Regions from separate parts of the Homo sapiens genome. Here region 2 is linked to region 1. The links are contacts of gene promoters, found by promoter capture Hi-C in blood cells and fetal thymus (Javierre and others, 2016). All regions are on one chromosome and are shown on one strand. The core of a region is centred on a gene start or on the middle of the fragment in contact, and the rest is flanking DNA. Distances in the headings are between cores, read along the strand shown.

Region 1 (6,866 bases), core at 2,965-5,464:
GGCCTGTGCTCCATGTCCTGTCAGATCAGCAGCGGCATTTGATTCTCATTGGAGCATGAACCCTATTGTGAACTGCCCATGCGAGGGATCTAGGTTGCCCACTCCCTATGAGAATCTAATGCCTGATGATCTGAGGTGGTAGAGTTCCATCACAAAACCATCCCCTCGCCCACCATCTGTGGAAAAACTATCTTCCACAAAAAGGCTGGGGATGCTGCTTTAATGTTTCCAAAGTGCTTTCACATAAATTATTATTATTATTTCGAGATAGAGTCTCGCTCTGTCACCTAGGCTAGAGTGCAATGGCGCGATCTTGGCTCACTGAAGCCTTGGCCTCCCGAGTTCAAGTGATTCTCCTACCTCAGCCTCCAGAGTAGCTAGGATTACAGGCACCCACCACCATGCCCGGCTAATTTTTGTATTTTTAGTAGAGACGGGGTTTCACCATGTTGGCCAGGCTGGTCTCGAACTCCTGACCTCAGGTGATCCACCCGCCTCAGCCTCCCAAAATGCTGGGATTACAAGTGTGAGCCACCGCGCCTGGCCCACATAAATTATTATTATTTTTTTGAGATAGGGTCTTGCTCTATTGCCCAGGCTGGAGTACAGTGGCATGATCATAGCTCACTACAGCCTCGCCTTCCCAGCAGGCTCCAGCAATCCTCCCACCTCAGTCTCCCAAATAGCTGGGACCACAGGCACACACCACCATGCCTGGCTAATTTTTGTATTTTTGGTAGAGATGGGGTTTTGCCATGTTGCCCAGGCTGGTCTTGAACTCCTGGGCAGGCTCCAGCAATCCTCCCACCTCAGCCTCCCGAAGTGCTGGGATTACAGGCACCAGCCACTGCGCCCACCCCCAAATCTACACATTTAAACAAGTCAAGTAACCCTGCTGTAGTTTTTCTGTTGCTTCAACTGTCAAGTAGGGAAAATGATACCTGCCTTATATATTAATATAAGGTATATATAATATATACATATTTATTATATATATATATGTTATTTTTTTTTTGAGACAAAGTGTTGCTCTGTCGCCAGGCTGGAGTACAGTGGCACGATCTTGGCTCACTGCAACCTCTGCCTCCCGGGTTCAAGCGATTCTCCTGCCTCATCCTCCCAAGTAGCTGGGACTACAGGCATGTGCCACCATGCTGAGCTAATTTTTGTATTTTTAGTAGAGACGGGGTTTCACCATGTTGGCCAGGATGGTCTCAATCTCCTGACCTTGTGATCCGCCCGCCTCGGCCTCCCAAAGTGCTGGGATTATAGGCGTGAGCCACCATGCTTGGCCTATTTTTCTTTTTTTTTTTGAGATGGAGTCTTCCTCTGTCGCTCAGGATGGAGTGCAGTGATGCAATCTCCTCAGCTCACTCCAACCTCCACTTCCCAGGTTCAAACAATTCTCCTGCCTCAGCCTCCTGAGTAGCTGGGATCACAGGCATGTGTCACCATGCCAGGCTAATTTTTATTTTATTTATTTATTTATTTATTTTTTTTTTGAGACGGAGTCTGGCTCTGTCACCCAGGCTGGAGTGCAGTGATGCGATCTCGGCTCACTACAAGTTCCGCCTCCCAGGTTCACACCATTCTCCTGCCCCAGCCTCCCAAGTAGCTGGGACTACAGGCGCCCGCCAGGACGCCCAGCTAATTTTTTTTTTTTATTTTTAGTAGAGACAGGGTTTCACCACGTTAGCCAGGATGATCTTGATCTCCTGACCTCGTGATCTGCCTGCCTCGGCCTCCCAAAGTGCTGGGATTACAGGCGTGAGCCACCGCGCCCAGCCAATTTTTATATTTTAGTAGAGACAGGGTTTCAACATGTTGGCCAGGCTGGTCTCAAACTGGCCTCATATGATCCACCACCTTTGGCCTCCCAAAGTGCTGGGATTACAGGCGTGAGCCACTGCGCCCGGCGTAATATAAGGTGTATATATGTGTGTGTGTGTATATATGTGTATATACACGCGCGCACCCCTTATACATACTGTCTGCAAATCAAATGAAATAATAAATACGAAAGGAGGCTGGACGCAGTGGCTCACACCCGTAATCCCAGCACTTTGGGAGGCCGAAGTGAGTGGATCACCTGAGTCCAAGAGTTTGAGACCAGCCTGGGCAACATAGTGAAACCTTGTCTCTACAAAAAATACAAAAATTAGCCGGGCATGATGGCGTGAGTGCCTGTAGTCCCGGCTACTGAGGAGGCTGAAGGGGGAAGGTCAACTGAGCCGAGGAGGCAGAGGTTGCAGTGAGCAGAGATCGCAGCACCGCACTCCGGCCTGGGTGACAGAGTGAGACCCTGTCTCAAAAATAAATAAATAAATAAATAAATAAATAAATAAATAAATATGAAAGGATACTGAATACTGTTATCCTCAAGTAAGATTATTTGTAGCAACAGAATACAAAATAAGGCTGGGTGCAGTGGCTCATGCCTGTAATCCTAGCACTTTGGGAAGCCGAGATGGACCAATCACCTGAGGTCAGGGTTTTGTTTTGTTTTTTTTGGCGGGGGGTGTGGGGAGACAGAGTCTCACTCTGTTGCCCAGGTTGGAGTTCAGTGGTGGAATCTCAGCTCACTGCAACCTCTGCCTCCTGGGTTCAAGCAATTCTCCTGCCTCAGCTTCCCAAGTAGCTGGGACTACAGGTGCATGCAGCCATGCCCCGGCTAATTTTTTATATTTTTAGTAGAGACGGGGTTTCACTGTGTTGCCCAGGCTGGTCTCGAACTTTTGAGCTCAGGCAATCCGCCCGCCTCGTCCTCCCAAAGTGCTAGGATTACAGGCGTGAGCCACCGCGCCCGGCTACAGTCAGAGGTTTGAGACCAGCCTGGCCAACATGGTGAAACCCCATCTCAACTAAAAATACAAAAAATTAGCCAGGCATGGTGGCAGGTACCTGTAATCCCAGCTATTCAAGAGGCTGAGGCAGGAGAATCGCTTGAACCCAGAAAGAGGTGGCACTGAGCCGAGATTGTGCCACTGCACTCCAGCGTGGGTGACAGAGTGAGACTCCGTTTCAAAAAAAAAAAAAAACAAGAATGCAAAATAAATTTAGAGTACTGAGAGTCGGAGAGGAAATGCTTGACAAAAGCTTGTTCCTTCTTTTTACTAGAAGGCAGGGCTAGCCACAGGTCGGTCGGCTTAACATTGCATCACTCACATTCCCTACCACTAGTCCACTACATTCTTATTTGGGGCAAAACTATCAGCCAACAACACTATCAGTCTCTTGCCCTATTGTCAGACTCTAAAACCCCTGTATAGAAAGGGATAACACTATCACGGGCCAGTCCCCAAGAACAGTGGCCTCAATAACAGCCCCACTTGCTATTAAATGAAATGAAGTTTCTGAACGGGGAAGCAGTCTGTCAATCCCTCAAGCAAAACGCCTTCACCCCTCCTGGCTTTCTGCTCTTCCTCTAGCCCCCTCCTCCCCACTACCCAATTTCCCAAAGTCCTGAGTTAGGGAAGGCCTTCCAGTGTGTGGTGTGTGAACCCTGCCAGAGAGCCAGGCTGCAAACCAAGCGCAGGGATGTGAAGAATGTGAGATTCCTTCATGGAGGGCTGGGAGGGGGTGAGGAGCGGGGAAGGAATGAGAGGACAAGGCTGCCAACGACAAGGCATGGGAGAGGAGCCAAGCTATGGCGCTTCGAGGGCGGGGGTTTAGGTTCCACCGCCCCTGCCCAGGCTGGCCCCCGGAATGCTCCCTTCCTCCCCTTCTGGCCCGTCAATCATTGCCCATTTAAACACCACGCTGTTCCCCCAGTTCTGCAGGTGCCGGTCCTCCAGCTAGCCCCGGCCCCCTCCCGCACTTCTCAAAGCTCCCCTATTCCAATGGACCTTCCCCAACAACCCGTTCTCCAGAGCCCCCTTCTCACCTCCCGACTCCTCGCCAGTGCTGCTCCCTTCTCACATTTTTATCTCTACCACCATCCCTCCTCCTGAACCCCAGTTATTTCAACCCCCCGCCCCAATACCCCTGGGACATCACCTCCTCCCCTCCCACACCCTCTTTTAGGTGGAAGATCGCGCAGGCGCAGTACGCACCGCCCTGGAAGCGGCCTGGAGTCTCCGCAACCTGACCCAGTCGGAGCTGAGGCCGCAGCGGCCACAGTACTGCCCTGGTGCCGGGTCCCAGCCTCTCCCGGGAAGGGAAGGGAAAGGGGAAGGAGGGGAAAGAAGACTCCTACCACTCGTCGCCGCCTCAGACGGATCCTTTGCCCCGCCCACCGCTGCTACGCAACCCGGCGGAAGCTCGTCACCAAACCCCGCCTCTTTGTTTAACTCAGCCCCTACACCAGCAGCCAGGAGCTGCCTACGAGGAGGGACGAAGGCTGGCCAGGCCTCCACTCTAGACAGGAAGTCTAGTCTAGAGTCTATATGGTCCCAGCCAGGACTATGTAGCCATTTAGGAGGGAGAACTCTATGTTCTTCCCGGCAAAAACGTGTGGGCCTGGCCGGCCACGCTTCGCTTTGGAGGGGTGCAGGTGACTTGTGTCTTAGAGCTGACGCAGATTGTTGCGAGATCATTGCGGAGAGGCAGGCCTGCAGCGTGACCTGCTGCGGGTCCGGCCCCTCTCCCTTTTCCAGAGCCCTGGTCAGCATCCCAGAGCTTCGTAACCCCTTGACTCCTGTCATGGGAATGGATATTGCAGTTAACAAGGCGGCCGCGGGGTGGGGAGTGAGGGAGTCTGACCGCAAAGCTTAGATCTGGGGTGCTCAACGGGTTGTCTGCCTCTCTCCCAGGCGCTCTCCTGCCGTATCCACGATGGCTCCCCGAACACTTGTGGAGTTCCCTGAAACACCTAAGAGGAAGGAAGGGAGAAAAAATTTCCCTCTTCCTGAGTTGGGGTTTGATTTCCTTAGCTTACAACACCGTGGTGTTGGGGATGTGGGCGGTAGAGAACGTGGGATCCAAGGGAAGTCAATGTGGAGCCTAAAGAGCTCCGTGAGCAGATAAGGGATTAATTAAGCAAACCAAGGCATTACAATCACATGACTTCCTAGACTAATCTGGTATTAAATAGTATGGTATTTATTGTGGACATTGGCTAAGCAAATGCTAATGCACATTAATACACACATACACACATATCTTTATGTAATTTGTTTATACACAACAATACAGAGCTAGCTACCTTTTGTGGACAATTTGACAGGTCCCAAAAGGAACTAAAGTTTCAGGCCTCCTTTCTGCTGTCTTCTAGCGGGACTCTGAGATAAGTAAGATAAGAGTAGTATGGCCGGGCGCGGTGGTTCATGCCTTTAATCCCAACACTTTGGGAGACCGAGGCTGGTGGATCACGAGGTCAGGAGTTTGAGCCCAGGCTGGCCAACGTGGTGAAACCCCGTCTCTACTAAAAATACAAAAAAAGTAGCCGGGCGTGGTGGCGGGCGCCTGTAATCCCAGCTACTCGGGAGGCTGAGACAGGAGAATCGCTTGAACCCGGGAGGCAGAGGTTGCATTGCAGTGAGCCGAGATCGCGCCACTGCACTCCAACCTGGGCGACAGAGCAAGACTCCTTTGCCGGGGTGGAGCGGTGGGGCGGGGCGGGGAAGAGTAGTATGGCCAGGTGCAGCGGCTCACGCCTGTAATCCTAGCACTTTGGGAGGACGAGGTGGGCGGATCCCTTGAGGTCATGAGTCCGAGACCAGCCTGGGAAACATGGCGAAACTGTCTCTACAAAAAAAATACAGAAATTAGCCGAGGGTGGTAGTGCGAACCTGTAGTACCAGCTACTACGGAGGCTGTGGTGGGAGGTTGCAGTAAGCCAAGATTGCACCACTACACTCCAGCCTGGGTTACACAGCGAGACCCTGTTTCAAAAAAAAAAAAAAAAGGGACTAACAATGTTTCTCTCTTTGTCGCAGGTTCCATTTCTTCCAAGAAGGGTGAGCCTGCCTTTTGTCTCTGGTGTAAATGCCACTTTTCCCAGAGACCTTGACCAAGCTGGGTAGTGCATTAAAGATGAGAACCCCAAATCAGGAACAAAGATAACGGTTAGAGCAATAAAAAGGGAGGAAACCGTGTGTGCCTACTGTGTGCAAGGCACTTTTTTAAATATAACTTCCGTTTTCTCGTAAGATGGAATTACATATTTTTTGTCTTTTTTTCCCTTTTTGTGGAGAATGGGGTCTCGTTATATTGCCCAGGCAGGTCTGGAACTCCTGGACTCATGCTATCCTCCAGCCTATGCCTCCCTACGTGCTGGGATTACAGGCGTGAGCCACCGCGCCTTGCGGAATTGGAATTACATATGTTTAAATAGTCGAGAAATGAAGTGAAGCATTGAGCCAGGATTCAAACTTTTGTCCGCCAGATTCCGAAGCCCTTGCTCCTTTTCCCATTGTGTCACTCTTTGGAAAGAAACGTCTTAGAACCTAAGTGCATTCTCCCTAGCCAAGTTAAGGAAAACTGGGGGCCCTGTGCGCCTTCTAGTGGTGGATTTTTCCCCCTACAGAGCCAACTATCTCCAAGGTTCCTTTAATACCTGAAATTCGCCCCCTTCGCGGCGCACGAGTCTCTGATCCCGATTGGCTGGGCAGGGCAGGCGGCGGGACGCAGGGCGCGCCCGGGCGGTGCTGATTGGCCGGAGGAGGCCAGCCGGGGGAAACTTCCGGGAATGTCCGCACTCCCGCGTTCCACGGGGCAGCATCCGGCGGCAGCGGAGCCTGTGGCTCCCCCTGCGGGCTGCTCAGCGGCGTGCACAGTCCTGCCGGCTGGCTTGGGTGGGTGGTGGGCTGCGGGTAGGGGAGGGGATGGACCGAGTCCCGGCTTGTCGGGATGAGGGTTCCGGAAGATCTGGCCAGTAAGATTCTACTCCCTGGCTGTGCACCGGGTTCCCTACCCCTGTCTACGTC
Region 2 (7,286 bases), core at 1,463-3,962, 72 kb after region 1:
CATTTCATTTCCTCTACCCCGTGGCTGCCAAAGAAAGCTGCTGAATGGCTCTGAACAGTACATTCAGGTTATGTTCATTGATGAGACAGGTAGATTACAAACCTCTGAATCATCCCTGAACTTCTACCTCCCAGATTCTCCCCTAATCCTGGAGGTGTGACAGTTGGGCTTTTGGCTTCTGGATGCATGCCACCTGTAGAGTCACCTTACTGGAACAGCAGCTCTCAGGAGAATCAGGCAGTCATCTCACTCAATAGGTCAGCTCCTTCATGGGGAGAGATGGAGAGGGCTACTTCCAAAGACAAGGGCCTGGCTCACAATGTCTGACAGCCAGTATTCTCTATAGGGTGGAGGTGGCGTTATCACAATCACGAAGAGGTTTTTCCCCCACAATCACTAAGAGCTCATTTGTTGCCACCCCTTACAAGAACTCCTCTAGTGAGTCAGCTATTATTGATAGAGGTGGGCTGTAGCCCTCAAATGTGGTAAGATGAAAAAATATAAAAATTAAAAGAGGCCAGGTATGGTGACTCACACCTTCCTTTGTTCTCCTCTGCCTTTGCCTCTTTAAAAAAGTTCTAAGTTGCAGCTGGGCACTGTGGCTCAAGCCTGTAATCCCAGCACTTTGGGAGGCCAAGGCAGGCAGATCACGGGGTCAGGAGATCAAGACCATCCTGGCTAACATGGTGAAACCCCGTCTCTATTAAAAAATACAAAAAATTAGCCAGGTGTGGTGGCAGGTGCCTGTAGTCCCAGCTACTCGGGAGGCTGAGGCAGGAGAAGCTCCGGGAGGCAAAGCCTGCAGCGAGCCGAGATTGTGCCACTGCACTCCAGCCTGGCTGACAGAGCAAGACTTGGTCTAAAAAAAAAAAAAAAAAAGTTCTAAGTTGCTAGCCAATCAGGACAAATACAAAATGTGAGGTCCCATTCCAGCCAATGGAAACTGGAACTGGACACAGCAGTAGGGTGGATGCATCAGGGTATAAATGACCCTGTCTCCTTTGCTCGGTGTACTCTCGTGGCAAAACTGCTGGCGTGTACCCTTTCTGCAGAAAGTATAAAAATGGCCTTGATGGCCTGGCGCGGTGGCTCACGCCTGTAATCCCAGCACTTTGGGAGGCCAAGGCAGGCGGATCATGATGTCAGGAGATCGAGACCATCCTGGCTAACAGGGTGAAACCCCATCTCTACTAAAAAAATACAAAAAAAAAAAAAAAAAAAAAAAATTAGCCGGGCGTCATGGCGGGCGCCTGTAGTCCCAGCTACTCAGGAGGCTGAGGCAGGAGAATGGCGTGAACCTGGGAGGCAGAGCTTGCAGTGAGCCGAGTTCGCACCACTGCACTCCAGCCTGGGCGACAGAGTGAGACTCTGTCTCAAAAAAAAAGGCCTTGCTGAGTAAATTAAATTAAATTAATTAAATTTATGTTCAAGTGCTATTTCTTTACAGCACCAGGGAACAAGCATTTCAAACAGGAGGCTGAGGCAGAAGAATCGCTTGAACCCAGGTGGCTGAAGCTGCAGTGAGCTGAGATTGTGCTACTGCACTCCAGCCTGGGCAACAGAGGAGACTCTGTCTCAAAAAACAAAACAAAACAAAAAAAGCCCACTTACTCAATATAGGTTATTTTCCTCTTACTCCTTAGCCTATTACCATCACTGTTCCACATCTAGCACCCTCACCCTACAGTCAAGAAGCCAAATTTTCTTTGATTCTCCATCCTAGGTACATCCAGACTCTCTCTGTCCTTCTGCATATCCAGGATATGTCCTACCACATATCCACATAACCAACATTAAAACCTTGGGGGAGGCTGGGCGCAGTGGCTCATGCCTATAATCCCAGCATTTCTGAATTAAAAAGCAAGACTCTGTCTCTACAAAAAATAATTTAAAAAATTAGAAAACAGGCTGGACACGGTGGCTCACGCCTGTAATCCCAACACCTTGGGAGGCCAAGGTGGGTGGATCACCTGATGTCAGGAGTTCAAGACCAGCCTGGCCAACATGGTGACACCCCATCTCTACTAAAAATACAAAAATTAGCCAGGCGTGGTGGCACATGCCTATAGTCCCAGCTACTCGGGAGGCTGAGGCAGAATCGCCTGGACCTGGGAGACGGAGGTTGCAGTGAGCTGAGATTGCGCCATTGCACTCCAGCCTGGGTGACAGAGCAAGACTCCGTCTCAAAATAATAATACTAAAAAAAATTAGAAAACAAAACAGAAAAACCTTGCGGAAGAAGCTCCTGATTTTAACAGGGACTTCGTCCTTCATCAACAAAAGATCAGAGCTTGCCAAGCCAGCAGGACTGGCTTAGCTGATGGAGCAAACACAATACACTAATAACCAGTAGGAAAAAATCCTGTACTACAGACACTTCCAATGCAGAAGGAACAACTTGCATTCAGAGAACACGAACACAAATAGGACAAAGGCTCCTCTCTCCCCAGAACCAGGTCAGAGAACTAAAGCCATTTAATGTGTGTGTTTCACAACGGTGATACTGGAAGTCGGTTTGGCACTACATGGTCAGGCCACTTAAAAGCCTGAGCAATCTACAGATTTCATACTTTGACCTCCTTCATACTTACAGACATTTCCTTAATAATTCTACCTAACTGTCATTTTCCAACAGTCTCTTCACGTGAATAGTCACCGATCACTGCTGGGTGCAGTGGCTCATGCCTGTAATCCCAGCACTTTGGGAGGCCAAGGTAGGCCGATCACCTGAGGTGAGGGGTTCAAGACCAGTCTGGCCAAGATGGTGAAACCCTGTCTCTACTAAAAATGCAAAAATTAGTCGGGCACGGTGGCGCACACCTGTAATCTCAGCTAACCGGGAAGCTGAGAAAGGACAATTGCTTGAACCCAGGAGGCAGAGGTTGCAGTGAGCCGAGATCATGCCACTGTACTCCAGCCTGGGCGACAGAGCAAGACTCTGTCTCAAAAAAAAAAAAAAAAAAAAAAAAGATGCACTGATCACTCAGTAAGGAGGACTGCAAAAGATACTCCTCCAGCTTCCATCTTCAGAAAGGAATCACAAGTCTATTTTTGTTTTTTGAGACAGAGTCTCTGTCACCCAGGCTGGAGTGCAGTGGTGCGATCTCGGCTCACTGAAACCTCCACCCCCTGGGTTCAAGCGATTCTCCTGCCTCAGCCTCCCGAGTAGCTGGGATTATAGGTGCCTGCCACCATGCCCAGCCAGGAATCACAAGTATTAAACTTTCCTTTCAGTAGGAACACTTACTGTTCTTTTGTTGAGACGAGTCTCACTCTATTGCCCAGGCTGGAGTGCAGTGGCATGATCTCAGCTCACAGCAACCTCTGCCACCCGGATTCAAGTGATTCTTGTGCCTCAGCTTCCCTAGTAGCTGGGATTACAGGCAGCTGCCACGATTGGCTGATTTTTGTATTTTTAGTAGAGACAGGGTTTCACCATGTTGGCCAGGCTGGTCTCGAACTCCTGACCTCAAGTGATCTGCCCACCTCAGTCTCCCAAAGGGCTGGGATTACAGGCGTGAGCCACTGTGCCTGGCCAACACTTATTGTACTTTAATTTAATGAACTTTTTTTTTTTTTTTAAGAGACAAGGTCTTGCTATGTTGCCAGGCTGATCTCAAACTACTGGGCTCAAGTGATCCTCCTACCTCAGCCTCCCAAAGTGCTGGAATTATAGACATAAGCCATCATGCCTAGCTAATAAATATTTCTTGGCCGGGCACGGTGGCTCATGCCTGTAATCCCAGCATTTTGGGAGGCTGAGGCGGGTGGATCACGAGGTCAGGAGTTCAAGACCATCCTGGCCAACATGGTGAAACCCCATCTCTACTAAAAATACAAAAATTAGCCCGGCGTGGTGGCATGTGCCTGTAGTCCCAGCTACTAGGGAGGCTGAGGCAGGAGAATAGCTTGAACCCGGGAGGCAGAGGTTGCAGTGAGCCGAGATCACACCACTGCACTCCAGCCTGGGTGACAGAGCGAGACTCCATCTCAAGGAAAAAAAAAAAATTCTTGAACACCTACTTATTATGTGTACACTAAGTATATACTAGTGAATAAAGAATATAGGATCTGTCATCATAATACTTTCTCAGGAATTAGAAACTATTCCCTTACTTCTGCTAGAAGTTCGTAGAAGTTTTATGGCTGGGCGCGGCAGCTCACGCCTGTAATCCCAGCACTGTGGGAGGTGGAGGCGGGCGGATCACGAGGTCAGGAGATCGAGACCATCCTGGCTAACACGGTGAAACCCTGTCTCTACTAAAAATACAAAAAATTAGCGGGGCGAGGTGGTGGGCGCCTACAGTCCCAGCTACTCAGGAGGCTGAGGCAGGAGAATGGCGTGAACCCCAGAGGCGGATCTTGCAGTGAGCCGGGATCGAGCCACCGCACTCTAGCCTAGGCGACAGAGCGAAACTGTCTCAAAAAAAAAAAAAAAAAAAAAAAAAAAAAAGAAGTTCTTACAAGTTTTAACTCCCTGACACTTTAGGGATTTACAAGAAACTTTTCCAGATCCCATCCTACTTTGCAGAATTGTAATCTGAAGGTAGGATCCAGGAAACTGCAACATAAGCAAGCATTACAGGTGACAATGCCCACTGTGAGTTTACAGACCTTTTAAAATAGCATCATGTTAAAAGAAATACAGAGGGCTGGGTGCAGTGGCTCACGCCTGTAATCTCAGCACTTTGGGAAGCTGAGACTGGTGGATTGCTTGAGCCCAGGAGTTCGAAACCAGCCTGGACAACATGGCAAAACACTGTCTCCAAAAAAACTACAAAAAAATTAGCCAGGCGTGGCTGTGCGTGCCTGTGGTCCCAGCTACTCGGGGGGATTGCTTGGGCCCATGAGGTTGAGGCTGTAGTAATAGCAAGCCATGTTCGCACCACTGCACTCCAGCCCCACCCCCCAAAAAAAACCCAAAACAGAGAACTAAGGAACTTGTGCAGTTGAAGCACAGTTGAAGCCAGAACTGAAAGATAATCAGATGCTAAGAAAGATCTATTGCTACAGTTGCCTCATTACGGTTTTAAATTTCACATCCTACTCTGTTGCATAAAGTATTGACACAGGGCAGAAAGAATCATTGTGTGGCTTTATTGAAATCCACCAAGTCTGGTTTCCCTTCTGCTGCCCCTTGGATTTTAAGTCAGGAATGCCAACTCTATCGCTGCTACCTACCATACTATTCTTGCTGCCTCCCCATGCATTCATTCACCTGCTACCAACCTAAAGGCCACTGGGAAGACCAAATGCAGTCATCTCACCACTAACACCCCATAAGGCTTCCCCTGCCATTCTAGTATCAAGGAATCACCGTTACTTTGGGTAGGCTGATAGTCAAAGTGAGGGCACAGAGATATGAGCCCTTACCTTTAAAAAATTTGGGCTTTAAAACCTAACTAAATATTTTGCAGGACAAAACCAACTCGGTTTTGTTGAACCCAATTTCTGAGTAGGACTTATACAGGTGATGTTGTACAGTGGTATAAGTCCAATGTAAAGAAACCATTGGTTCCTTTGCATTTAAGTGTCTTGAAAAAGTCTAGAAGTAATCTAGAAACATCTTTGAATTGATTTACTCAGTTTCAAACATACTAGCTTGGAGAAGCAATTTTCAGTGGCTCAAGAGACAGTTCCCTTTAGCTAGGGTTGGTTAAGCATGTTGACTTCAAAAGTCCAGAAGTGAACTGCAGCCCTACTTCAATTCCTAGCCCAAATCCAAACCCAGATCATCTGTGAAAAGACATTTTTGATGTCACAAAACTGAGTCACCCACAGATAATACTAAGGCCATTGCTTAGCATTAATGAATTTGGATAAACAAGAAGTCAAATAATCTCAAAGCTCTCTGAATTAGCTTCTAACTCAGGTGTTTTAAATTATGTGACATTTAAATTATGTGACAGTGAGAGTAGAACAATAGAACAATGACTAATTCACATGTTGTCTCCTAGTAAGGTTAAAAAAATTCGCCAGTCTGGCCAATATGGTGAAACCCCGTCTCTACCAAAAATACAAAAAATTAGCTGGGCGTGGTGGTGCACACCTGCTAACCCCAGCTACTCAGGAGGCTGAGTCACGAGAATCGCTTGAGCCTGGGAGGCAGAGGTTACAGTGAGCGGAGATTACGCCACTGCACTCCAGCCTGAGTGACAGAGTAAGACTCTGTCTCAAAACAAAAAAAAATTTCTTCTCAGAAAAGTAAAACTACACCTGACGCTGAGACTCAAAGTGGTAAGAGTCAGTTCTCCCTGGTAGGAAATTACTGCCTCCCAAAGTCTACCTTACTAGCAAAAGTAAAATTACCAATTATGACTAGCATTATCCACAGGCTAATCTAGAAAGCACAGGCAGGTGCTAGCAATGCTGACAAGCCAACAAGCTTCTTGGTACCCTGGTCATATTGCTTATTTCTCAGGAGATTTCCAGTCCAATAAACTCATTATTGGGCTTTGCTACCCCCCCCGCCCTTTTTTTTCTCTTTGAAACGGAGTTTCGCTCTTGTTGCCCAGGCTGGAGTGCAATGGAGCGATCTGGGCTCACCACAACATCCGCCTCCTGGGTTTGAGCGATCCTCCTGCCTCAGCCTCCCAAGTAGCTATGATTACAGGCATGTGCCACCATGTCTGGCTAATTTTGTATTTTTCGTAGAGATGAGGTTTCTCCATGTTGGTCAGGCTGGTCTCAAATTCCCGACCTCAGGTGATCCACCCGCCTCTGCCTCCCAAAGTGCTGAGATTACAGGTGTGAGCCACTGCACCTGACCTACTTTTAAGGGTCAAAAGCCTTCTAATGGCTTTCAACTGATAGGTGACTAGGATCGTCAGGCCATCTCTAACAGGAAAATAATGGTACCATAATTATGTAGCTCTGTCATCCCAAAAGTGTTCTGAGCTTCCCTATGGGCTTAAGGAGGAAAATAAATTCAATAGGTAAATCCCAAGGCTTTTTCACATTCACTGCAGGGTTAGACTATCTGGTCTGGGTTAGCAGCTCAGAAATGAGCTAATTATAGTGTCCCCCATTCTGCCAAAACGCTATCTAGAACTTGCTTCATTTCCCAAGAGGTTTCCTTACCCTTTTCCCCAGCAGCAGGAGAAGCAACAGCCAAGTAAGACAAGCATCTCCCAAATGCTCAGCTAGTACTTGCCACTGGGTGCCTGGAAGAACCAAGGTAAATCTTACAAATTTCACTTTGTGCCAACCATGAAAAATAACGCACAGCAGGCCAGGTGCAGTGGTTCACACCTGTAATCCCAGCACTTTGGGAGGCCGAGGCAGGA

What was found. Contacts are between HindIII fragments. The CHiCAGO score rates a contact against its expected background, and 5 or more counts as called.
Region 2: a fragment that was not itself captured here is called in contact with the fragment with the promoter of RNF41 in region 1 in 1 of 17 cell types (erythroblasts); the score reaches 5.3 in erythroblasts.

Annotation. Positions count from the first base shown.
Region 1 is chr12:56,217,708-56,224,573 of GRCh38, forward strand. RNF41 (ring finger protein 41) reads right to left here and starts at 4,215. Exons shown (of 7, transcript NM_005785.4): 1 at 4,053-4,215. It overlaps NABP2 (nucleic acid binding protein 2), which reads left to right and starts at 6,635. Exons shown (of 7, transcript NM_024068.4): 1 at 6,635-6,734. RefSeq lists enhancers at 4,137-4,186, 4,173-5,107, 4,407-4,626, 5,108-6,041, 5,458-5,752 and a silencer at 6,484-6,723. The HindIII fragment of the contact is 1,612 bases long and covers 3,095-4,706 here.
Region 2 is chr12:56,291,529-56,298,814 of GRCh38, forward strand. The region is part of intron 1 of CS (citrate synthase); the gene reads right to left. Among named protein-coding and RNA genes, the nearest start is that of CS, 5.2 kb to the right of the region's middle. The HindIII fragment of the contact is 7,341 bases long and covers 1-6,383 here.